Linked DNA regions of Homo sapiens: all the other regions are linked to region 1. The links are contacts of gene promoters, found by promoter capture Hi-C in blood cells and fetal thymus (Javierre and others, 2016). All regions are on one chromosome and are shown on one strand. Each heading gives the region's core, a stretch centred on a gene start or on the middle of the fragment in contact. The rest is flanking DNA. Distances are from core to core; before and after follow the strand shown.

What was found. The method cuts DNA at HindIII sites, captures the fragments that hold promoters and counts their contacts. A CHiCAGO score of 5 or more calls a contact.
Region 2: a contact is called between a fragment that was not itself captured here and the fragment with the promoter of TRPM7 in region 1, in 12 of 17 cell types (M1 macrophages, total CD8 T cells, M0 macrophages and 9 more). The highest score is 12.4, in M1 macrophages.
Region 3: a contact is called between a fragment that was not itself captured here and the fragment with the promoter of TRPM7 in region 1, in 17 of 17 cell types (activated CD4 T cells, naive CD4 T cells, total CD8 T cells and 14 more). The highest score is 18.2, in activated CD4 T cells.
Region 4: a contact is called between a fragment that was not itself captured here and the fragment with the promoter of TRPM7 in region 1, in 2 of 17 cell types (activated CD4 T cells and erythroblasts). The highest score is 5.3, in activated CD4 T cells.
Region 5: a fragment that was not itself captured here is called in contact with the fragment with the promoter of TRPM7 in region 1 in 2 of 17 cell types (erythroblasts and megakaryocytes); the score reaches 6.3 in erythroblasts.
Region 6: a fragment that was not itself captured here is called in contact with the fragment with the promoter of TRPM7 in region 1 in 4 of 17 cell types (erythroblasts, activated CD4 T cells, megakaryocytes and 1 more); the score reaches 6.6 in erythroblasts.

Annotation. Positions count from the first base shown.
Region 1 is chr15:50,684,791-50,688,785 of GRCh38, forward strand. It overlaps TRPM7 (transient receptor potential cation channel subfamily M member 7), which reads right to left and starts at 2,007. Exons shown (of 39, transcript NM_017672.6): 1 at 1,741-2,007. The coding sequence starts at 1,743. It overlaps LOC128092252, which reads right to left and starts at 1,927. Exons shown (of 4, transcript NM_001414947.1): 1 at 1,741-1,927. The coding sequence starts at 1,927. RefSeq lists enhancers at 1,095-1,959, 1,489-1,908, 2,219-2,398 and a silencer at 1,959-2,128. The HindIII fragment of the contact is 16,005 bases long and covers 1-3,995 here.
Region 2 is chr15:50,925,019-50,928,974 of GRCh38, forward strand. It overlaps AP4E1 (adaptor related protein complex 4 subunit epsilon 1), which reads left to right. Exons shown (of 21, transcript NM_007347.5): 5 at 80-201. Among named protein-coding and RNA genes, the nearest start is that of AP4E1, 18 kb to the left of the region's middle. The HindIII fragment of the contact is 1,988 bases long and covers 972-2,959 here.
Region 3 is chr15:50,900,902-50,904,896 of GRCh38, forward strand. No RefSeq gene overlaps it. Among named protein-coding and RNA genes, the nearest start is that of AP4E1, 5.8 kb to the right of the region's middle. The HindIII fragment of the contact is 4,281 bases long and covers 1-3,995 here.
Region 4 is chr15:50,854,665-50,858,659 of GRCh38, forward strand. The region is part of intron 1 of LOC124903490 (a long non-coding RNA gene); the gene reads right to left. Among named protein-coding and RNA genes, the nearest start is that of AP4E1, 52 kb to the right of the region's middle. RefSeq lists an enhancer at 44-93. The HindIII fragment of the contact is 2,009 bases long and covers 1,188-3,196 here.
Region 5 is chr15:50,834,510-50,838,504 of GRCh38, forward strand. No RefSeq gene overlaps it. Among named protein-coding and RNA genes, the nearest start is that of SPPL2A, 71 kb to the left of the region's middle. The HindIII fragment of the contact is 1,663 bases long and covers 1,087-2,749 here.
Region 6 is chr15:50,817,810-50,821,804 of GRCh38, forward strand. No RefSeq gene overlaps it. Among named protein-coding and RNA genes, the nearest start is that of SPPL2A, 54 kb to the left of the region's middle. The HindIII fragment of the contact is 1,171 bases long and covers 1,469-2,639 here.

The DNA of each region.
Region 1 (3,995 bases), core at 757-3,256:
CACACCCCAAGAGAGAAGGTACTAGAGACTGAAAGAGTTACCGACCAAATGCTATGTGCAGAATTCTTTGTAACCTGATTCTAACAAATCAACTGACTAAAACATGAGACAATCAGGGAAATATGCTGAATATTTAATGATACTAAGCAATTATTAATTTTTAGGCATGATAATAATATTGTGGTTATGTTAAAAAGTCCTTGTCTTTTTAGACATAAACACAATAAAGTATCCATAAATGACATTTGTCTGGGATTTGCTTTAAAATTATCCCATTGAGGAATGATAGAAGAAATAAAATTCACATGGTTGAAGCTGTTGAAACTGGCCAATGGGTATATGGTAGTTCATTCTACAATGTATCTTTGCAAGTTTGAAATCTCCCATGTTGGCCTGGCGCGGTGGCTCACGCCTGTAATCCCAGGACTTTGGGGGGCTGAGGCGGGCGGATCACCTGAGGTCAGGAATTAAGAGACGAGCCTGCCAAACATGGTGAAACCCCGTCTCTACTAAAAATGCAAAAATTAGCCGGGCATGGTGGCTACAGTCCCAGCTACTCGGGAGCCTGAGGCAGGAGAATCGCCTGAATCCCGGAGGCGGATGTTGCAGTGAGCGGAGATCGCGCCACTTCACTCCAGCCTGGGCGACAGAGTGAGACCCTGTCTCAAAACAAACAAACAAAAAAGAATAAGGTGGAAAATAGTGAAAGACACATTATTTATTCAAAGTATTACTACATTTGTGTTATAAGTAAAACTCTTATTTTAGTTTTGTATGGCACTTGAATTAGCGTCCAGTGAAAAGCAAACTTGCCAGACTCCAGCAGAGGGAGAGTTGTTTGCATAAAGCCTATCAAATTCAAGTACTGACCAAAAATACCTACTTTGCTCTTCATGTCCCTGATGTAAATGACTTTCTTAAGAAATCTTCAAAATTGGTTCCTGATATCCAAAAATAAAAAGCTCTATCGGAAGCTGCAATGCACCGCCTCCCTCTCTCCATTCCGCACCTTTCGGTTTAAAACACGATCAACTGTTCTCTGGGGCAAGGGATGCGGTAGTTCGACTTAAATCCTGACTGACAGTACATTGTCTTGGTCCCCACAGAAGCCTCCCCCCACCCACCAAAATCCTTAATTCTTGCTAAAGAAAAAAGATCTACCATCAATATTGTCAAATCCCTCCCTTTTGGTTCCAAAAAGGAAATGTACCTGTAGAGTATCCGCTGCACAGCAAACAAGGCACTGCTCCAAACCCGTGTCCTCTACCCCCTTTTTGCACCCTTCTAGCCCTCCCTCCCTTTTTTCCATGTAAAACTTGAGCAGAGCATTTGGTTCCCTTATCTGCCAGCAACTGGCGCCAGGAGGACCGTGCTCCCAGGAGATGCGGAGCTTGTAGGCTGAGCCCTGCGTCGGGCGCGCTGAGGCCGCTCAGCTGAGCCCAGCCAGGTAGTCCCGGGCTCGCGCCTCTGCCGCCTGGAGAGGCCCTCGCTGGGAGCCGAGTCTCGGCTCAGGGGATTCCCGCGAAGAGGTGTCGCCTCTAACTTGCTACCTGCTCCCGCCCCTCACCCCAGAACGAACTGCACACCCGTCCCGAGAGGACAAATCCGGAAGCCTCAAGGCAATTCGAGGGTCCTTCGCCGCATGGAACGCGGCTCCCCACACACTTGCCTGCCAAGTCTCTCCTTTACCGCCCGCAACCCCAGAACCATTCCCCGCCCGGGCCTGCGTGGGTCCAGTACCATTCTCCTCACGGGGCGGACTCCGGAAGGGCAGCAACTCCACCTCCTCCTCCTCCGCGGCCTGTAGCCATCTATCGGGAAGCGTCTCCGGAGGCGGCAGCAGAGGCCGCCGGACAAGGAACGCCCAGGGAAACCTTCTCAGAACTAACTCAGCTCCGGCGCTAGCAGCAGAAGCCGAGTCTTTCATAATTGTGCGACCAACTCCTCCGGGTGACTGGCCACAGGGACGCGCCCGCGCCCGCCTCCGCCGGCGACGGGGCTGGGGACGGACCACGTGAGCGGCGCGGCGCGGCGCGTGCGTCGCCGCCCGCGGGTCGGGTCACGTGAAGGGCGCGCGCTCCCTCGATTCCAGGCCGCCTCCCTGCGCGCCGCGCGCACGCGCTGGGCAGGTTCGCGCCGCCACGCCGACCGCCTCTGGGTTCCCAGAAAGTGGTGGGGTGTTCACGCCGTATCTCCGTTGGGTACCTAGGCGGGACTTAGACAAACTTCAGCCTCAGCTACGAGAGTGGAACTTGGGGAATCGGAGGTTGAGGGTTAAGGTTCAAGGCTTGCGGATCCAGTCTGGAGTTGCTGTGTGGGCTCATTCCGCTAACTAGGCCTGGCCTGTGCCGACTCGCTCCAGCAAACTCGAGTGTCGCAACACACTCTGTGTGCTTCAGAGCGAGTAGAGGCTTTAAATGTTACTCTCTCCTCGTCCAAAATGCAGAATCATCTTTTTACCCCAATCATGTTCTTTCTCTAGCCTCTCCTGTTGCTGCCGGTAAATATTCTTCTTTGTTTAACTATGGGACTGTCTTTTTCCCTCCAGAGATACTCACCCACATACACGCATACACCACACCTTCTGCACCAAAAACTGGGTTGTTCCCTTGATGTAATATGTACCTATCCACCTTTCCATTTATTTTGCTGTCACACATGCCAAGGTTTGGCTATTAGCAATGGTTTACTAAATGTTATTCCTTATCTACTGGGAAGACCACAATCAGTTTAATTTTCTTAAAACTGCTTTAACATCTTTCTGCTCCTGAAGTCTTCGAGAGTTCCTCAATCTGACCCTCAGGGATCTGACTGTCTTATCTCTTTTTTAAAAACGACTTTATTTTAAAATAATTGACATGACAAACTGCACGTATTTAAATGTCCAATTTGATAAGTTTTGACATACCTGTGCACCCATGAAATCACCATAATCAAATGAACGTATTCACCTCTAAGTTTCCTCCCCCCCCTTCATAATCCCTTCATCTCGTCCCTCTCCATCACGTCCCTTATCAACTACAGATCTACTTTCAGTACAGATAAGTTTGCACATGCTAAAGTTTTATATACGGGAATCATACAGCACGCACCTTTTTTTTCCGTCTAACTTCTTTCATTCAGCATAATTATTGCCTCTCAAACATTATGACCCACAATTCACTGAAGTAGGATCTTCTCTCAGAAAAAAAACTAATCCACCCACTGGTTCCCCCAGCTTGTGAACAATCTTCAGGTATTGTGTATTTCTTCCCCATCTGGCAGGTCCAGCAGAACCAAGACTTAAAAATGTTTTAATATATGTGTCACACTAAATTGTCAGCCTTGGGGAAGGCATCTTGACTAATTTATGCATGCAGTCAATAAATGTTTATCTTCTGGATTTCAGTTGGGCCTACACATTTCCTGCCTGTAGGGAGTTTATAATCTAGAAGGTAGAGGCAGACAAACTGGAAAATCAAAATAAAATGAGATTAGAGTGCTTTGTTTCGTTAGAACTTTGTAACTCTGGTCTTTTTGTACTCACGAATGCTTCGCTCCTTAGTTGGATGGTGTAGAAATGAAACAAGATGAGCTCCTTGGCACTTGCCAGAACTCTTTGGTAAATTGGAAAATTTAGAGTTAGAAATGGGGAACAGGATTGGGTGGGCGCGGTGGCTCATGCTTGTAATCCCAGCACTTTGGGAGGCCGAGGCGGGTGGATCACCTGAGGTCAGGAGTTCTAGACCAGCCTGGCCAACACGGTGAAACCCCGTCTCTACTAAAAATACAAAAATTAGCTGGGCATGGTGGCAGGCGCCTGTAATCACAGCTACTCGGGGGGCCGAGGCAGAAGAATCGCTTGAACCCAGGAGGCAGAGGTTGCAGTGAGCCGAGATCGCGCCATCTCACTCCAGCCTGGGGGACAAGAGCAGGACTTCGTCTCAAAAAAAAAAAAAAAAAAAGAAAAAGAAAAGAAATGGGGAACAGGATTTATCCTTAATTGAACTAATCAA
Region 2 (3,956 bases), core at 716-3,215, 240 kb after region 1:
GGACCATTACAGTGTTGAATTTGCCATTCCTAGTTTCAGTATTTACACTAAATGTTTTCTTTGCTTAATGTTGTGCCAGGATCTGCAGAGCACTAACCTAGTAGAAGTGTGTATGGCACTGACTGTTGTTAGCCAGATTTTCCCCTGCGAAATGATTCCAGCTGTTCTTCCATTAATAGAAGATAAACTTCAACATTCTAAGTAAGTAAATTCTTTTGGGATAGGCATCTATGCCATATATTTCAAAACAGAAGTTTATGCTAGAAAATTTATTACAACTTCAGTGCTACCAGGATAGAGATTATTTGACTGCTAGGAATAATACAAAAATCTTCAATAGGATCATCTTTATTTTTATGTGGGTTTAGGGAAATGTTAGACAGCTTTCTAAAGTTAGACTAAGAGACAGTGAGGCCTAGTATCCAGGAATCCTTGGCTTGCCTCCCATTTCTACCACTAATGAGCAGTGGTCTTGTTTTTCCTTGGCTATATGGGGTTGGTTGAAGCTCCTTAGTTCTACCAAAGTTGTTTTGGGGATAAAGTGAAATAATGAAAAACATATGGAAATTGTGCAAGTGTTGTGAATGCAAAGCTTCAGTGTAGTGGGAAGATGCTTTTTTTTTTTTTTTGAGACAGAGTCTCACTCCGTTGTCCAGGCTGGAGTGCAATGGCATGAACTTGGCTCACTGCAACCTCTGCCTCCCGGGTTCAAGCAATTCTCCTGCCTCAGCCTCCCATGTAGCTAGGATTACAGGTGCCTGCCACCATGCCCGACTAATTTTTTTTTTTTTTTTTAATAGAAACTGGGTTTGGCCAGGCTGGTCTCGAACTCCTGACCTCAGGTGATCCACCTGCCTCGGCCTCCCAAAGTGCTGGGATTACAGGTGTGAACCACCATGCCCGGCCCGGGAAGATGCTTTTTATATCAAAACCACAGCATTTTAATCCTATTTTACAGCAGAATGTTTCCAAGCTTAATTTACTTTGTAGTATTTTGCTAATCTTCTCTTGTAAATTTCCTTAACTGTCTCCTTATCAGACTGACTTACTTTTCACTGTATTTGAATTATTAATATTTTGTTTTTGACCAAGCCCCTTTATGTCATAATTTTAATTAATTAATTAATTAATTTTTTTGAGACAGAGTCTCACTCTGTTGCCTAGGCTGGAGTGCGGTGGAGTGATCTCGGCTCACTGCACGCTCCACCTCCCAGGTTTAAGCAGTTCTCTGCCTCAGCCTCCTGAGTAGCTGGAATTACAGGAACACGCCACCATGCCCAGCTAATTTTTTGTATTTTTAGTGGAGGCAGGGTTTCACCATCTTGGCCCGGCTGATCTTGAACTCCTGACCTTGTGATTCACCTGCCTCGGCCTCCCAAAGTGCTGAGATTACACATGTGAGCCACTGCGCCTGGCCCATAATTTTTAAAGTTGGAAAAGGTTTGCAATCATTGTGATTATGGTATGTCAGTTATATATTCTTGATGAAGATTTTTTTGTTACTCATACAACATTTATTTTACATACTTTAAATCAGTATTTTTAATGTTCTGAGATTGCAAAATGTTGTTTTATAGCTTGTATTCTTTTTTTTTTTTGAGATGGAGTCTTGCTCGGTCGCCCAGGCTGGAGTGCAGTGGTGTGATCTTGGCTCACTGCAACCTCTGCCTCCCGGGTTCAAGCTATTCTTCTGCCTCAGCCTCCTGAGTAGTTGGAACTACAGGCGCCCGCCACTATGCCTGGCTAATGTTTTAGTAGAGACAGTGTTTCACCATATAGGCCAAGCTGGTCTCGAACTCCTGACCTCGTGATCCACCTGTCTTGGCCTCCCAAAGTGCTGGGCTTACAGGCGTGAGCCACCATGCCCGGCCAACTTGTATACTTTAAGAAATATTGAATCATGAATCTTCCAGCTAAAATGATAGCTTTTACTAAGAATTACAGAATAACTTCATAGGTCTTTCAGACTTTTTATGTATTGTATATCATATCTGTGTTTAGAACGAAGGATGATTATGGACAATTAATTATTGGAAATATTTGCTTTTTTGAGATTTATAAGGTGATCTGATTATAAAAGCAGCATATTTTTGCTTAACTTTTCCTTACCACTACTTTTGTGGTGACCTTACTTACTGACCATTTGTATGAAATCCTTCTGAGAATTGAAAGGTCCCGTTTCAATTTTTTTCTTTATTGCTTTGTGTTTAGTCTAATTTCAAGTCCTGGCTAGAGTTTAGACTTTTTGAAACTCAGCTTTTGCAGTTATGGCCATACTCAGCCCCATGCTCTGGAGTAAAGAGCTGACGAATATGAGGCAGAGCTATAGGTAAGCCAGTAGATGTCACAAAGAATATTTGAAATAAGGCTTGAATTCAACTTTTGAATCCCTGGTTGTATTTCAGCATACCAACCCCAGAGCCTGAATCTAGGTCTCTCGTCTTATGTTAGTACCACCACTTGAGGCCAGGCCTGTGAACTCCTGGGCCTATTCAGAGTTTTTTTTTTTTTTTTCCTCACTTCATTTACCTATTCTCCCCCAGAATTAATATCAGTTAACACGCAATGGCAATACACTGTGACGTGGCTTGCATTCACCACAGTATTAATACTAACAGTAAATCTGTTATTAATCTGCCTTTCTTTTCTTTTCTTTTTTTTTTTGTGAAGAGTTTTCCGTTATGGCATAGCTTGCCTAGGAAGATAAGAGTTGTTTATTAATGGAATTTGTATGACCACTTATTAAGAATCTTATAAAAGGAGTTCTTGAGTGGAACACAAAGGATTGCACTGAATAGTCTCAGTCTTGAGATTCTACGACAGAAATATCTGTTAAGGAACCCTAAAAGTAAATACTTCACTTTTGTGATGTTTGCTGCTGTTCTGAGCACTGCCAGCATAGTCTGCAAATAACAGATATGTAGAAATAGACAAGAGAGAGAATTTCTAACAAGGAAGAAGCTTCCTTGGAAACTACATCATGAACATAGGATGGCATTTCTTTATTTTTGCTTCTGTGTGCTAGATGTTATCTGCTACAGATGAAGTGCAAAACTAGTATATACTTTTCTCTTTATTATCATGAGGTTTTGAAACAGATGAACTGGGCAAAGAGAGGAATAACATCTTTTTATTCCATGTGTGTCCTTGTATTCCTCCCCTCTGTCCCCCAGAATATTTGGAGTCTGCTATCCAGTGATATATATATATAAAAAAGAAACATAGAAAGCTACTATTTTAGGGTGAGAATGTTAACGAGTTTTTTTTCTTTTCTTTCCTTTTTAATTTGAGACTGAGTCTTACTCTGTCACCAGGTTGGAGTGCAGTGGCACAACCTTGGCTCACTGCAACTTCTGCCTCCCAGGTTCAAGCGATTCTTGTGCCTCAGCCACCCAAGTAACTGGAACTACAGGTGTGCACCACCACACCTGGCTAATTTTTGTATTTTTAGTAGAGACAGGGTTTCGCCATGTTGGCCAGGCTGGTTTTGAACTCCTGGCCTCAAGTGATCCACCCACCTCAGCCTCCCAAAGTGCTGGGATTACAGGCCAAAGATTTTTAATATTAATAAAAAGATTTTAATATTACTAGCTGAAATTACCTATTACTTAAACTTACTGTTGACTTTTTTTTTCAATTTTTAGAGATACGTCTTTTAAAAATGGAATTAGAGAATTAAGAAATTTGTTTTTCATGTTTTTTTTTTTTTAATCTCAAAAGTAATATATGCTTGTTACAAAAAAAAATTCCCTAACTAGATAAATATATAACACGGGCAGTTAAAGTTTTGAGACCTTACTTCCTAGAGGTAACCACTTTTTATAATTTGGTATATTAGAATAAATAAATTAATCACAAATGTATAGTTATCTCTTTCTTTGTAAATTAAGGTAATGAGCCAGTATTTTGAAATCATCTGGCCTATAATCTTTCAAAGTAAATACTTGAGAATTCAG
Region 3 (3,995 bases), core at 795-3,294, 220 kb after region 1:
TGTGTTGGGTGGCTAATCTCCCTTCTCTCTTAACAGGATGCTTGAGATAACATCAATAATCCACTCAGGTAATCCATGATAATCTCTTTACCTAAAGATCCTTAACTTCATCTCATCTGTAAAAGTTTTACCACGAGGTAACACAAATTCCAGGGATTAGAACACGGACATCTTTGGAAGTCATTATCAGCCTACCACAAGGTTTTTCTTTTTTGTTGAAGTTTATGAGGAAAACCTGGTCACATACAGAAAGTAGTTGGGGAAAAATCCCTTTCAAATAATTGTAGATATTCTTCTTAGATCCAACACTAAAAGCAGTAAGTAGTTTTTAAAAAGTTGTTGCAATGTGGAATCTGAAACCATCAGGGAACCTTTTTTACTAGGTTACATTGAAATCATAATTCTATTGAAGCTGTCCTCAAAGGGTTAACAAGAATTCTGGAAGGAAATATAGTTATAATTGAGCATTAATCAGGCTGCACTCTGACCCACTTCCTTGTAACCAAAAGTCAGGTTACACTACATAGAGACCATTTGCGTTCCCATTGTTCCTATTGACAGAATTTCTGACATTAGGCTTTTTTTTTTTTTTTTTTTTGAGATGGAGTCTCTCTCTGTCACCCAGGCTGGAATGCAGTGATGCAATCTTGGCTCACTGCAACCTCTGCCTCCTGGGTTCAAGCGATTCTCCTGCCTCAGCCTCCCGAATAGCTGCGATTACAGGCACCTGCCACCACGCCTAGCTGATTTTTGTATTTTTAGTAGAGACAGGGTTTCACCATGTTGGCCAGGCTGATCTCGAACTCCTGACCTCAGGTGATTTGCCCGCCTTGGCCCAAAGTGCTGGGATTACAGGCATGAACCACCGCACCTGGCCCACTCAACTAATTTTTGTGTTTTTGGTAGAGACGGGGTTTCACCATGTTGGCCTGGCTGGCCTCAAACTCCTGACCTCAAGTGATCTGTCTGCCTTGGCACGGACTCCCAAAGTGCTAGGATTACAGATGTGAGCCACCGCGCCTGGCCAGGGCTTTTAAGATAGATAGGATCTCTGACATTAGAATCATAAAGGGTTTAAGAACTGCTTAAGCAGATCCTGAATTCCACCTGAACAGCTGATGCCAACCAGTTTAAAAACCCCCAGAGAGGAACGGAATCAATAACATCTCCCTGTCCCATGGCTTCACCCTGCACTCTGATCAATCTCTACACTTTGGCCTACTCCCAAACCTTTAAAATCCCTAGCTCCACATTCCTTGGGGAAATGGATTTGAGGTTTTCTCCCATCTCCTCATCTGGCAGCCCTACAATTAAACCTCTTTCTCTGCTACAACCTGGTGTCTTGGCATATTAACTTGTCACATATTGGGCGAAGGGCCCTATTATGGTTACACTATTTGCTTTAAGTGGATGTTTTGCTGGTACATAATTTTATAACATTGTGCATTGATCATTTGGAAAATATTGGTTCATTGAGTTATGGAGATCTTTCAAATGTTGGCACATTTAATTATACAATATAAAAAATTCATTAACATAATCACCAATTTATCAGAATGGTCTTTATGTATCTGGAAATTATTAAAATTGTAGTAGACAAACATTTTTCAAAATTTTAGTTTTCACTTGAAAGCCTGAATTTATCAGTGGCAACAAATATTGTCAGTTATCTTCCTTGAAGTGTGAAGGAAACCAGACTCTGTCACCCCAAAATATTCCTATTTGACATGAATATTATTTTGAGCTGAAGGCAATTAAGCAGCAGCAAAGGCAGGAAACACTCTCTCTACCCTCCTCCTTTTCTGTTTAAAGGCAGGATACAACTTCCTTTACTGGAGGCAACTCTACCATCTTACTAGCCCAGAGGTGGCACCAGAGGAATGTGCACACAAACCTTACTTCATTAGTTTCTTTCCATATATTTTCCTTCCCCAAGATTCCCAGCCCTGGAAGACTAAAACTGCTTTCCTTTGTCCTGTCATTTCTCTATAAGTTTATTGTATTTTGTTAAAGATGCTATATAAGCCAGAGTTTTACCTTCTTTGAATTACTCATTTCTAGTTATTCCTATGTTATATGCTCCATACATTTTAATAAACTTGCTTGTTTTTTTCACAGGGGACCCAGCCAAGAACTTAGAAGGGTAAGAGAAAAAGATTTTTTTCTTTCCCTACAACTGAAAGACTCACTGTTCATTTTCAAGAAAACTACTGTTTATCGCTTTCAACTAAAAATGGTGTTCCATGAAAAAAAGTGGTTGGTTCAGCTTTCTCTTTTCTTTTTTTTTTCTGAGACGTAGTTTCGCTCTGTCGCCCAGGATGGAGTACAGTGGCGCGATCTCGACTCACTGCAAGCTCCGCCTCCCGGGTTCACGCCATTCTCCTGCCTCAGCCTCCCGTGTAGCTGGGACTACAGGCGCGCGCCACCATGCCCGGCTAATTTTTGTATTTTTAGTAGAGACGGGGTTTCACCGTGTTAGCCAGGATGGTCTCGATCTCCTGACCTCGTGATCCGTCCGTCTCGGCCTCCCAAAGTGCTGGGATTACAGGCGTGAGCCACCGCGCCCGGCCTTCTCTTTTCTTTTTTTGAGACGGAGTCTCACTCTGTCGCCCAGGCTGGAGTGCAGTGGCGTGATCTAGGCTCACTGCAAGCTCCGCCTCCCAGGTTCACGCCATTCTCCTGCCTCAGCCTCCAGAATCGCTGGGACTACAGGCGCCCGCCACCACGCCCGGCTAATTTTTTGTATTTTTGGTAGAGACGGGTTTTGCACCGTGTTAACTAGGATGGTATTGATCTCCTGACCTCGTGATCCCCCCGCCTTGGCCTCCCAAAGTGCTGGCATTACAAGCATGAGCCACTGTGCCAGGCCGGTTCAGCTTTCAAGTTAAACAATGATACAAATGCTTTTCCTTGAGAAACTATCTTATCTCAGTTATGCCTCAAGAATTTTTTCTTTTTCTTTTTTTTTTTTTTGAGACGGAGTTTCGCTCTTGTTGCCCAGGTTGAAGTGCAATGGCACGATCTCAGCTCACTGCAACCTCCGCCTCCCGGGTTCAAGTGATTCTCCTGCCTCAGCCTCCCAAGTAGCTGGGATTACAGGCATGTGCCACCACGCGCAGGTAATTTTGCATTTTTAGTAGAGATGGGGTTTCACCACGTTGGCCAGGCTGGTTTCGAACCCCTGACCTCAGGTGCTCTGCCCGCCTCAGCCTCCCAAAGTGCTGGGATTATAGGCCTGAGCCACCACACCCGGCCAAAAGAAAAGCCTCAGGATTTAAGAGTTTATACTTTATGAGGTTGTACTTTATGAGTACTTCCCATTTTGTCACAAAAAAAATTTTTTAAAAAGTGCACTCAAAGACTGAAATTTAATAAAATTAAGAATTCTTACTGCTTCATCAAGGATATTCTTAAGTGAAACTGACTTAAAAAAAATTGAGTGTATTGTTCCAGGATAAACTATGAGATTCAAAGAAGTTGTTCAATACATTATTTCATCACCACTTGTGTTTCTTGTCAAGATTTATGTAAAAGAGGATCTTCAAGAATTAGTTGGTGCTGACACTGGATGGGTATAAGCAAAGCAACAAGTCCAGCTACATGAATAATTATGTCCATTTTAAAGGAATTATAATTCTGCAGATGACATAGTAACTCAGTCTTTATATTTGCAACTAAATTTCTTTCTTTTTTTTGAGACAGTCTTGCTCTGTTGTCCAGGCTGGAGTGCCGTGGCACCATCTCAGCTCACTGTAACCTCTGCCTCCCAGGTTCAAGTGATTCTCCAGCCTCAGCCTCCCGAATAACTGGGATTACAGGCATGTACCACCATGCCCAGCTAATTTTTTTTTTTTGTATTTTTAGTAGAGACAGGGTTTCACCATATTGGCCAGGTTGGTCTCAAACTCCTGATCTCAAGTTATCCGCCTGCCTTGGCCTCCCAAAATTCAGGGATTACAGGCATGAGCCACCTCGCCTGGCCTGCAACTAAATGT
Region 4 (3,995 bases), core at 942-3,441, 170 kb after region 1:
GTTTTCTTGCTCAGTCTCATTGGTTGTGTTCAAAGTGGAAGTTGAAGAGTTTTTCCCTCAGGGCAAAAGGTTTTCATTCTCTCTGCGTGCTTTCCCTTACACAATGACTTCAGAGACTGGCAACATAAATGTTGCTTAACTTGTTCAGATGAACATGAAGGTAGAGGCTACCGCCTTAGGATTCTGAACCTGCAAGTGAGGTCAGACCTCAGAAGTCATCAAGTCCTAGTTTTGAGGCCCATGGGATGGCCTGGAATTTTTGTTTGTTTTTTCTTTCTGTTGGCCATTGAGCACAAGCAGAGAACTGACGGCTGTGAAAGCTGCCTAGAGGCCTGACAGCAAGGGTTTTACCTGAACTATTTGGTAGAGAAAGTCCAGTCTTCCCCAGCTAACAGAAGAGGGCCTCTCTTCACTAGCACCTTGCCTAACCTTTAGATAAGTCACCTACATTCAATTTTGCATAAAGTGGTTGATTTCAGAGCAGCCAAAGCAGAAGTGAAATCAACTTGGTGTATCTCAAGACAACACTACATGGAAAGACCTTTCCTGGTGCTCACAGTGGGGTAACAGAGATTAGGTTCGCCTGAGATGAGATGGATGTGATATGAAAGAGAAGGAACACTCAAGAAAAAAGAAAGGGATGAGTCATGGAATACTTTTGGAATATGAAAACAGAAATAGTTTACCTCCTCTATGGTTTTATCTGAGGAGCTTGAAGATGTAGAATATTTAGCTCCCAACTTTAGCTCACTATCCTGGTTTCTACCCCAATGCTAGATTCTGAAACAGTCTTGTGAGAGTAAAAGTCCAGGATGTAATATGGTCTGCTCTGCCCTTATCCAGGCTCAAAGAAAGACATCTTATATGTGTGTGTCAGAAGATTGAGGATTGGTTGGTAATCTTTACACAGGAGCCTAGGTCTGCAAGTGGGCTTATGTGGCTCTCTTTAATTACAAAGTAGACTAGGTATTAGCAATTACCCTACTCAAGAAATTCCACTAAAGAGTCTCGTCCTTAACAGGATTGCTGTTCCGTGTAGGCCACTCTTCCTTCTGTGAATCCCAGCCCAAGTCTTGGTGGTGATTCCTCCTCCAGCCCCTTCATCCTTTCAATTTCCACACCTGGTATCTACCAAAAACACACTTCTGAGCTTTTGCAGAGTGCCCCTTTATTTCACGGAGGCGGGAAGCTTGTAGATGGGAATGTGTGTTGCTCTAAATTAATTTCCTACACATGTTCCCTCATGTGCACAGAGCATTTGCATTTTAAGCAAATCTTTTCTCTCTCTCTCTCTCTCTCTCTCTATATATATATATATATACATATATATATATACATATATATATACATATATATATATACATATATATATATATACACATATATACATATATATATATATATATATTTTTTTTTTTTTTTTTTTTTTTTTTGAGACAGAGTCTTGCTCTGCCACCCAGGCTAGAGTGCAGTGGCACAATCTCAGCTCACTGCAAGCTCCGCCTCCTGGGTTCACACCATTCTCCTGCCTCAGCCTCCCGAGTAGCTGGGACTACAGGCACCCACCACCACGCTTGGCTAATGTTTTGTATTTTTAGTAGAGACAGGGTTTCACTGTGTTAGCCAGGATGGTCTTGATCTCCTGACCTTGTGATCCACCCGCCTCAGCCTCCCAAAGTGCTGGGATTACAGGCGTGAGCCACCGTGCCCGGCCTATCTTTTCTCTATTTTATTGGTCATAGTATAATTTTACCTGCAATACAAATATAACAGTGATTACATTTTCTTTCTAGTAATTGGCTGTAGGAATCACATACTCTTATTAAACTCTTCCTGTCAGTTTATACTGCACAATAACTTTAGTTTATCACAGTGCCTACATGCAATGCTACCTGATACCCGCTCCTGGAAAAGAATTTTGTTCTGTTGTGCTTACTTTGCTCTTTTCTGTACAAACTCCCTTTTATGTACTTTTATGATTTATTGGCATTATGCAGCCCTCTATCCTCCTTTCCCGACCGGGCTCAGAAACTTGGGAGTGATGTGCGTTCTCTCCCTTTCTAGTTGACTCTTTCCTGGCTCCTTTACTCTTCCTTCTCCCCATCTCCTGCTTTCCTGTCACTGGCTTCTCCAATCTGCTTTTTCCTCTTGCTCCCCCTTTGCCCAGTCTTATAGCACCCTCTAAGAAATGTGTTTTGCCGAAGGAAGGTCTCTGTACACTGTTATTACTTTCTTCTTTGACTGTGTTTTTAGTTTTTGTGTCATTTCTGGGAACTCTGCTACAATAACATTCCATGAAGGAAAGCTGAACACTAGGGAAATGAGAGAGGAAGCTGGGGAAAGAAAGAGCAGAGGGAAGATGGAGAGGGGCTCAGGGAGGACCCCAAACAAGTTAACATGAGGCATCTTGGAGTGAACTCTACAAATAAAGACACTTTTTACAATGTTTTACTGTTTACAAAGTAGTTTTCATATGTTACCTGATTATCTGGTAACAAATATAGGCATGCTTCTTAACATTTTGCAGATGAAGAGACTGGAGCTATAAATTAAGAATAATATAAACTGTGATGATGCAGCTTATAAAAGCAGAGTTGGGATTTGAGGCTTCTGACTTCAGCTCTCTTTCTCTTTCCACTATTCCACAATGCCAGGAAGATGAAGGAGTTGAACTCCGGGAGAATTCAAGTCACCTTTCACAAGGCTATGTTTTCCATAGGTTCAAAAAACCAAAAAATCCAGACTTATGCTCTAGTTTATCATGATTAATTTTTCTTGTGGTAAGAAAATAATTTAACCATTAGGTTTGTTTGTCGTAGCAACAAGAAATGAATTACTTTCCAAACTGGGAATATCCCTCTGTAGCCAATGAAAGAATGAGTACAAGTGTGGAGGAGTAAATCTGCATAAAGATAAATATAACTTTAGAAAATTCTTGAGACATTGACAGAGTTTTGGACCTAATTTCTAAATGGGCAGAAAGCTCTCTTTTAGAACAGCTTCTCTGCAATCCTGTGTAGAAGTGGGAAGATGAACATGGAGACTATTCAAGGCAGGGATGGTGGACTTAGTGGGTCATTTTCACTTTTTTGAGTTTCAAAATCTTACAAATTATATTATTTTTGGCTCTTTCTGTGTCTTTGAGAACTGCTCTTTCTACCTTAAATCACCTCCAGAATCACCAGGGCAAACAAGAAGCTTATTTGAACTTCAGGTCTCTAGAAAACAGACTGCTGTGTCATTGCACTTGGAAAGCAATCATTTAAAGATAGTTTTCAGGCAGGTGAAAGACCAGCACAACAAACTGATAAAACTGCCTCTGTCATTTGATCTCCTGCAGCCATTCTGGAGAGAAGACATTCCTGTTAGGAACCTGAGCAAGAAGCTCTGGTCAGGAGACTTCTATTTTATTAGGATCCTGCCCCAAGTTAGAGGTCAAGTTACAACTCCCCTCAAAATTACTCTGTAATAGGCTGCATTACATAGAAAATTCCAACAAAGCACCGGAATGTCTGAGTTAAGAGAGCTCTTTGTACATTAAGAAGAAAAATAAAGTTCAGCAGCATAATCCTATTTCTAAGCCAAATCTGGATAATACTAAAGGACTTCCAAATAACACCATTTAACTATTTGCGAGAATTATGAGTTTGCACTCTGAGCGATGTCCTGTCCCCTGCCCCCCAAACCTCAATAGAAGCAAAGAAGCTAGCAACACTCTACCTCATAAGCTTACTATTTAAACTGTGCAAAGGTGAATAAAAAAAGTGAGAATAAAGAAGGTGATGTGGGAAGATGGCAAGGAAATGTCCCATTCTTAAGCACCTTTTAAAAAAAGAATTGTAATCCCAGCACTTTGGGAGGCCAAGGCAGGCGGACCACGAGTTCAAGAGATAAGACCATCCTGGTCAACATGGTGAAACTCTGTCTCTACTAAAAATACAAAAATTAGCTGGGCATGGTGGTATGCATCTGTAGTCCCAGCTACTTGGGAGGCT
Region 5 (3,995 bases), core at 668-3,167, 150 kb after region 1:
AAAAAGAAACAAACAACAAAAAAAAAGGACATTAACTTATAGAAGAAATTAGATGAGTTTTAGATGAGTTGTTTTGTAGAATGTCCCACATTCTGAATTTGTCTGCTCTCTCATAGTATCATCCAACATATCCCTCTAAGACCTATTCCCAGTAAGTGGAAACTAGGTTAACTGAGTCTCAGAATATTGGTAGTTTCAATATTTTTGACAAAAATAGTTCAAAGTTGGTGCCATGTATTGTATTTTATATTGTATCATCTCAGGAAGTCTAGCATGTCTGTGTCATTATAAGTGATGCTAAGATTGATCAGAAGGTTCAAGTGGTAATGTCTGATCCTTTTATTGTAAAGTTCTCAATCTTTAATTTAGTAGTTTTAGCCATTGATGAGGTTTGCCTGTTGTATCGACTATTTCATTATGTTGTAAAATAGAAAATTTATAATGTATTTTTCCTTTAATTTATTAACTGGAGTTCTTTTATAAAGAACTTTCCCTCATTAAGTATTTGGTTACTCTGAAGTATACTTCACTCAGGAAAGGCAGGATTAATTCTCAATTATTTTTAATTGCCAATTTTTCAAAGTAAGTATTGTACCCTAGGTTTTAATAGTGTCCAGTGTTTGCATGGGTGTGTATTTGCTTTTCCTTGTTTACTTTTACTTTTTGATTCTGTAACACTGTGAACTCATGGATTTTTATATATTCAGTATGTTTAAATCAAATGTAGTCAATATCCTTTTTGTTGTTGTTGTTGTTTTGAGACAAGGTCTCACTCTGTCTCCCAGGCTGCAGTGAAGTGGCATGATCATGGCTCACTATAGCCTCCGTTTCCTGGGCTCAAGTGATCCTTCCACCTCAGCCTCCCGAGTAGCTGGGACTACAGGCATGTGCCACACCTGGCTAACTTTTGTGTTTTTTTGTAGAGATGGAGTTTCACCATGTTGCCTAGGCCAGTTTCGTACTCCTGGGCTCAAGTGATCAGTCTGCCTCAGCCTCCCAGAGTGCTGGGATTATGGACGTGAGCCACTGTGCCCAGGCCCAATATTCCTTTTGATGTTCACTTTTTTCCTATATTTGGCCAATAGAAGCTTCTCTATGTTTTTATTTTATTTTTCCCAAATAAGAAAGTTTAGTTATTTTTTTAATGAGTAACTGAGACAGTAAACTGCCTGCTTTAAATGTCTGAAGAAGTCTTTATTTTGACTTCATTATTGATAGATAGATAGATAGATAGATAGATAGATAGATAGATAGATAGATGTTATAACCTTACCATTGTTTTTCTGCAGCACTTCAAATATATTAATCCATGGCTGGGCATGGTGGCTCAGTCTTGTAATCCCAGCACTTTGGGAGGCTAAGGCAGGCGGATCACCAGAAGTCAGGAGTTTGAGACCAGCTTAACCAACATGGTGAAACCCGGTCTCTACTGAAAATACAAAAATTAGCCAGGCGTGGTGGTAAGCACCTGTAATCCCAGTTACTTGGGAGGCTGAGGCAGGAGAATCGCTTGAACCTGGGAAGTGGAGGTTGCAGTGAGCCGAGATTGCACCATTGCACTCCAGCTTAGGCAACAAGAGCGGGACTCCGTCTCAAAAAAAAAAAAAAGATATTAATCTGCTACCAATTCCCATACCTGTATAACCTCACCCACTATGGACATCCTACACCACAGGAGTACATTTGTTACAATCAATGAACCTGCACTGACACATCATTTTCACTGTAAATCCTTAGTTTACATTAGGATTCATTCTTGGTGTTGTACCTTCCATGGGTTTTGATGAATATATAATGACAGGTATCCACAATTGTAGTATCATACAGAAGAGTTTCACTACCCTAAAAATCTTTTGTGCTCTGCCTATTATCGTTCCCTCCCTGCAACTCCTGATCTTTTTACTGTCTCCAAAGTTTTACCTTTTTCAGAATATCACATAGTTGGAATTATACAGTATATATCCTGTTCAGACTGGCTTTTTTTTTCTTAGTATTAAGTTGGTGCAAAAGTAATTGTGGTTTGGGACCGTGAATTTTGAATCATTATACCTAGGCTGAAACACATCTTTATTAATCAAAATGGGAATTATTACAATCAATACATTTTTGCCAACGAGAAATAATTTTGTTTATTCCTGTAGTGTAAAATCCGTGCTTTGGGATTCAACAAACTCTTGGAAAGCATTTTCTGCATCCTGCTGGCTGTGGAAGCATTTTCCCCGCAAAAAGTTGTCCAGATGCTTGAAGAAGTGGTAGTCGGTTGGTGAGAGGTTAGGTGAATATGGAAGACTAGGCAAAACTTTGTAGCCCAATTCGTTCAACTTTTGAAGCATTGGTTGTGCAATGTACGGGGGGCATTGTCATGGAGAAGAGTTGAGTCCTTTCTGTTGTCCAATGCCAGCTGCAAGCATTGCAGTTTTCGGTGCATCTCATTGATTTGCTGAGCATAATTCTCAGATGTAATGGTTTCGCCGGGAATTTGAAAGCTGTAGTGGATTAGACCGGTAGCAGACCACCAAACAGTGACCATGACCTTTTTATGGTGCAAGTTTGGCTTAGGAGTTGCTTTGGGACTTTTTCTCAGCGCAGCCACTGAGCTGGTCGTCACTGGTCGTTGTATAAAATCTACTTTTCAATGCATGTCACAATCCGATCAAGAAATGGTTCATTGTTGCATAGGATAAGAGAAGATGACACTTTAAAATGATTTTTTTGATTTTCGCTCAGCTCATGAGGCACCCACTTATCAAGCTTTTTCACCTTTCCAATTTGCATCAAATGCCGAACAACCACAGAATGGTCGATGTTGAGTTCTTCGGCAACTTCTCTTGTAGGTGTAAGAGGATCAACTTTGATGATTGCTCTCCATTGGTAGTTGTCAACTTCCAATGGCCAGTGACGACGCTCCTCATGTTCAAGGTTCTCCCTTGCAAAACTTCTTGAATCACCACTGCACTGTACTTTCGTTAGCAGTTCCTGGGCCAAATGCATTGTTGATGTTGAGAGTCTTCTTCCCTGCTATATGACCCATTTCGAACTCAAAAAAGAAAATCACTTGAATTTGCTTTTTGTCTAACATCATTTCCATACTTTAAAATAAACATAAAACAAAGAGCACATAATAAGTCATTAGCAAAAAACAAAAACAAAAACATAAAGCAAGAAATTCCCATTAAAATGATGTATAACATAACCACATTTATTTAAGAATGTATTCTAATATCAAACGGCAAATTCCAACAATGCAAAAACCGCAATTACTTTTGCACTCACCTAATAATATGCATTTAAGTTTCCTCCATGTCTTTTAGTGGCTTGATAGCTCACTTCTTAAAGTGCTGAAAAATTCATTGTTTGGAATTACAACAATTTATCCATTACCTACTGAAGGACAGCTTGGTTGCTTCCAAGTTTTGGCAATTATGAATAAAGCTGTTATAAACATCCGCATACAAGTTTTTGTGTGAACATAAGCTTTCACTTCCTTTGGGTAAATACCATGGAGCATGATTGCTGAATTGTACAGTTAAGAGTACATTTAGTTTTCTAAGAAACTGCTGAATTCTTTTCCAAAGTGGCCATACCATTTTGCATTCCCACCAGCAATGAAGGAGAGTTCCTGTTGCTCCACATCCAGAGTTTGGTGTTGTGTTTTGGCCATTATAATAGGTGTGTAATGGTATATATTTGTTGTTTTAATTCATAATTTCCTAAGGATATATAATGTTGAATACCTTTTCATATGCTTCCTTGTCATCTGTGTATCTTCTTTGGTGAGGAATCTGTTTAAATCTTTTACTCCTTTTTAAATTGGGTTGTTTTCTTGTTGTTGAGCTTTAAAAGTTCTTTATATATGTGTCTTTTGCAAATATTTTCTCCTGGTTTGTGGCTTCTCATTTTCTTGACACTGTTTTTCATGCAGCAGAAATTTTTTAATTTTAATAAAGTCGAGATTATCAAGATTATCAATTTTTTTATTTTAATTAAATTAATTA
Region 6 (3,995 bases), core at 804-3,303, 130 kb after region 1:
TAGTGTTAGAATCAAGTGTGCCTTAACAAAAGCTGTGTGAGTTGGATCACCGGTAGCAGTGATCTTCCTTCCTTCTTTCCTTTCTTTCTCTCTTGTCCTTAGATCTGTTTTTTTGTGTTGCTTTTTTTGTTTTGATTTTTGCTGTTCCAGATTTGTTCATTAATTCTGTAATAGCATTGTTTTGGTCCTTTGGCCAGTTATTAAATATAATCTCTCAGTGCCACATCCACCCTTTCCTAATGTTGTTTTATGATGCTGGAGCTGGGACTATGCAAACCACATTTCTGCTTTGCCAGTTGCTCTCTGAGGTGTTTCCAATAGGGAATATCAGAGAGAGAGAGTGAAAGGCTGGAGGAGGGAGGATGGACTTCCTTCTTTCCTGTTGGATTCCTCCTCTGTATAGCAGTACCCCAGCCTCATTTTTAACTCTGGCTGAGTAAGTTTGATCCAGTAGCAGCAGAGCAGCTATACAGTCCAGGTTACAGTCACAGTTTGCTTAATACTTGCAGAACTAACCTCATCACACCCCCTCAAATACCTAATATCAGCTGGTCAGCACCACTTCCTTAGAGATTTTGGTCGTAATTCCATGGAGGCCCTTCTCTGAGCAAAAAGACCATAGCACCAGCTAAGCAGCGCGTTCTTTTCAGAGATCTGGTACTCAGTTTTTTTGGGCTTCTCCTCCAAGCTTCTAAGTTTTAATTATTCTAGCCTTTTCCCTTTATTCCTCAAGCCCCAGGGATAGAAGCTCCTTTTTATAATCTGTCTATAATCTGTATATCTATCTATAATCTTAGTGTTTTATTTTTCCCTTGTCAGTTCTTGATTACCTAGTTAGCAGTTCTTGAACTCTTTCTGTTAAAGTAAGTAGTATGGTTTCTGGCTCCTAATTAATATAGTTTTGTTTCCTAGATTCTGCAATCTCTTATTTTACTTATTTTTATTTTTAATTTTTTTTGAGATGGAGTTTTGCTCTTGTTGCCCAGGCTGGAGTGCAATGGTGCGATCTCGGTTCACCGCAACCTCTGCCTCCCAGGTTCAAGTGATTCTCCTGCCTCAGCCTCCCTAGTAGCTGGGATTACAGGCATGCGCCACCACGCCCGGCTAATTTTGTGTTTTCAGTAGAGATGGGGTTTCTCCATGTTGGTCAGGCTGGTCACAAACTCCCGACCTCAGGTGATCTGCCCGCCTCGGCCTCCCAAAGTGCTGGGATTACAGGCATGAGCCACCATGCCCGGCCATGCAATCTCTCTTTTACACCTTTTATTATGTTATTTTATCATTTTGTAATAAGTTATTTTATCACAAACATGATAAAACAAACAGCTCTTACATTTTTCTATTCTCTGTGTTATGTTTAGATAGTATTTGGTGTGCCATCCTCCTTTCCTTACTGCTGCTTTCTTTGCTTAGTTTATTTGCATAGTTGCTGTTTCTTTTATCTTGTTAATGCTTATGTTTTTCATAAAGCTTCATTTTATATTGTTCATGTGTAACATGGGCAACTCTTTTCTAGACATTTTTTTTTCTGATAAAAACATGCATGAGTAAATCTCTCAGCACTTTCTCTGCCTATTTGATAAGTATTTATGTTTTTCTACAGCTACAGTTTTAGGAAAAGATAACAGGAACAGATTTATTAAGGTGCAGGAAATGAGAAATGAATGCACTATATTTTCTTATCATAGGATCTCAGAAATGGTTACATGATGAAGTATCTCTTTGCTGGGCAATGACCTTTCCTAATTTTAGAAATCTGTCTGCAAATATGAATCATGCTGAACAGAGTATGGTCATGTTTTTATCAAAAGAATGGACAATTAAGGACAACTTGTATTAAGTGTATAACTAAGTAATATTCATTTTAAAAACCTTTTATTTTATCTTTCAGATTGCAAAAATCAGGTAATCTGAAGACAGAAAAAAATGTACTGTGTCACCTTACTATCTTTGGTACTGCTAATTGGATCAGGGCTGTGGACATTGGACCGTGGTCAGAGATCTATGATAGTCTTGTGGGCAAGCTCTGCCCCGCAAAGACCCCTCAATATTGCATAGTAAATGCCCCAAATAATCAGGTACTCTTTTTGAAGACATTTCAAGTTGAGACATAAGGGAAATAGTTTGGTAGTAGTAGGAATAGTGGAAGCAGAGTTAAAGAATATCCAAGTCTCTTTAAAAGCAGAGTACCTGAAGAGGGATTGAGAAGTTAATATTACTTTGATGATGACAGTGCAACAAAATGTCTTATACCTTAAGAGATTCTAGTTCTGAAACTATGTGTCAGTCTTCATAATCCATTTTATCTCTCAATAAGCCACCATTAGTTAAGGTAATTGAAAACTTAAAAGATTGTAACTTACAAAGACATTTAACTTGTTTCTGATTTTTCAGTCTTGCATATGAATAACTTCATGTACATAGTTTTAATCTTCTGTTGAATTAGTTCTACAGCATAAACTCCTAGAAGTGGCCTTAGGGTTTCAAGAAAAACATTGTGGTTTTTGCCACCTATGTTGCCATATTACTTTCCAAAAGGATTGTAACAATTTATCAGCAGGATTTGAGTATGGATTTCACTGTAATCTCATGTGTTGATTTTTTTTCCTAATTTTAAGAATATATAATTATGCCCTCAAAGCTTTCTTAGTTTACATGTTTTTGATACATATCAAATATTGTTGAGGCCGGGTGCGGTGGCTCACGCCTATAATCTGAGCACTTTGGGAGGCCAAGGCGGGCTGATCACTTGAGGCCAGGAGTTAGAGACCAGCCTGGCCAACATGGTGAAACCCTGTCTCTACTAAAAAAAAATACAAAAATTAGCCAGGTGTGGTGGCACATGCCTGTAATCCTAGCTACTCAGGAGACTGAGGTAGGAGAATCACTTGAACCCGGGAGGTGGAGGTTGCGGTGAGCTGAAATTGCACCATTGCACTCCAGCCTGGGTGACAGAGTGAGACCCTTTCTCAATCAATCAATAAATGAATAAATAAATAAACAAAAAACCATAAATATTGTTGAGAAAATTTTGATGAACTTTATGCAGACCTAAAAGTCCTCACGCCCTACGGACCAGCAGATGCAACTTAAAACATGTAAATTGATGACGTTAGAGTTAGCAATGTGTAAATCTTAGATTGAATTTCTAGTGGTTGTGAACTTGAAAACAAAGGCCCGATTAAACGTAGACCACAATATGAGATTGACAGGCTTCTGCTTGGACTAGACGTGACCTCATCAGTGCTTCAACAAAAGGCCATTATTCATTGCATTAATTTCAATGTGAGGATTAGCTTTTATTCCAAATGATCTCAGAAAGTTTTGATCTTTAGACCAATTTTCTACTTGAACCCAATCTATAAATGCCAAGCTAATGCTTCTACTATGATATAGCTGTCACTTTTGATAGGATGTCTTTAGATTTTATTGTGTCCTAAAGTTACCTGTTCTGAATAAAGAAAACATTTTCCAATTTTGTTTTGATGGCTCTAATTGCTAAGAACTTCCCAGTATGGAAAGACAAACAGATAGAAAGCCACAGTTAACATCTGTTATTGGATCTACTCTCTGCTTTCTTAAGATCATCTATATCAAAGTAACAAAAACAAAAACAAAAACAGAAGGTAATGTGAAAGGATCTAGTCCAAATGGCTAAGCAGAATCCTTTTTACCCCACTCTACACACAGAATGTTGGACTAAAAGTAATAATAATAATTTAAGAAATATGTACCCAAGCTCAAAAATCAAGAAAAAAAAATTCTCCAGAAATGCATAGATATAAAACGGAGAAGGAGTTGAAGCTTTGATGCCCATAGGAGGAACCAAATTGATCTGTGTCTTTGGGGTAGGGTAAATCAAGGGCTGCTGCCCTTGCCTGGTGCCTGTGGGGAGCGGCAAAATTACTACACTGTCTAAGAATGGGGACCAGGAAAACCCAAAGGCCAAGAGTTGCTGCAAAGGTGAGCCACCTCTACATAGATGAAAACAGGAT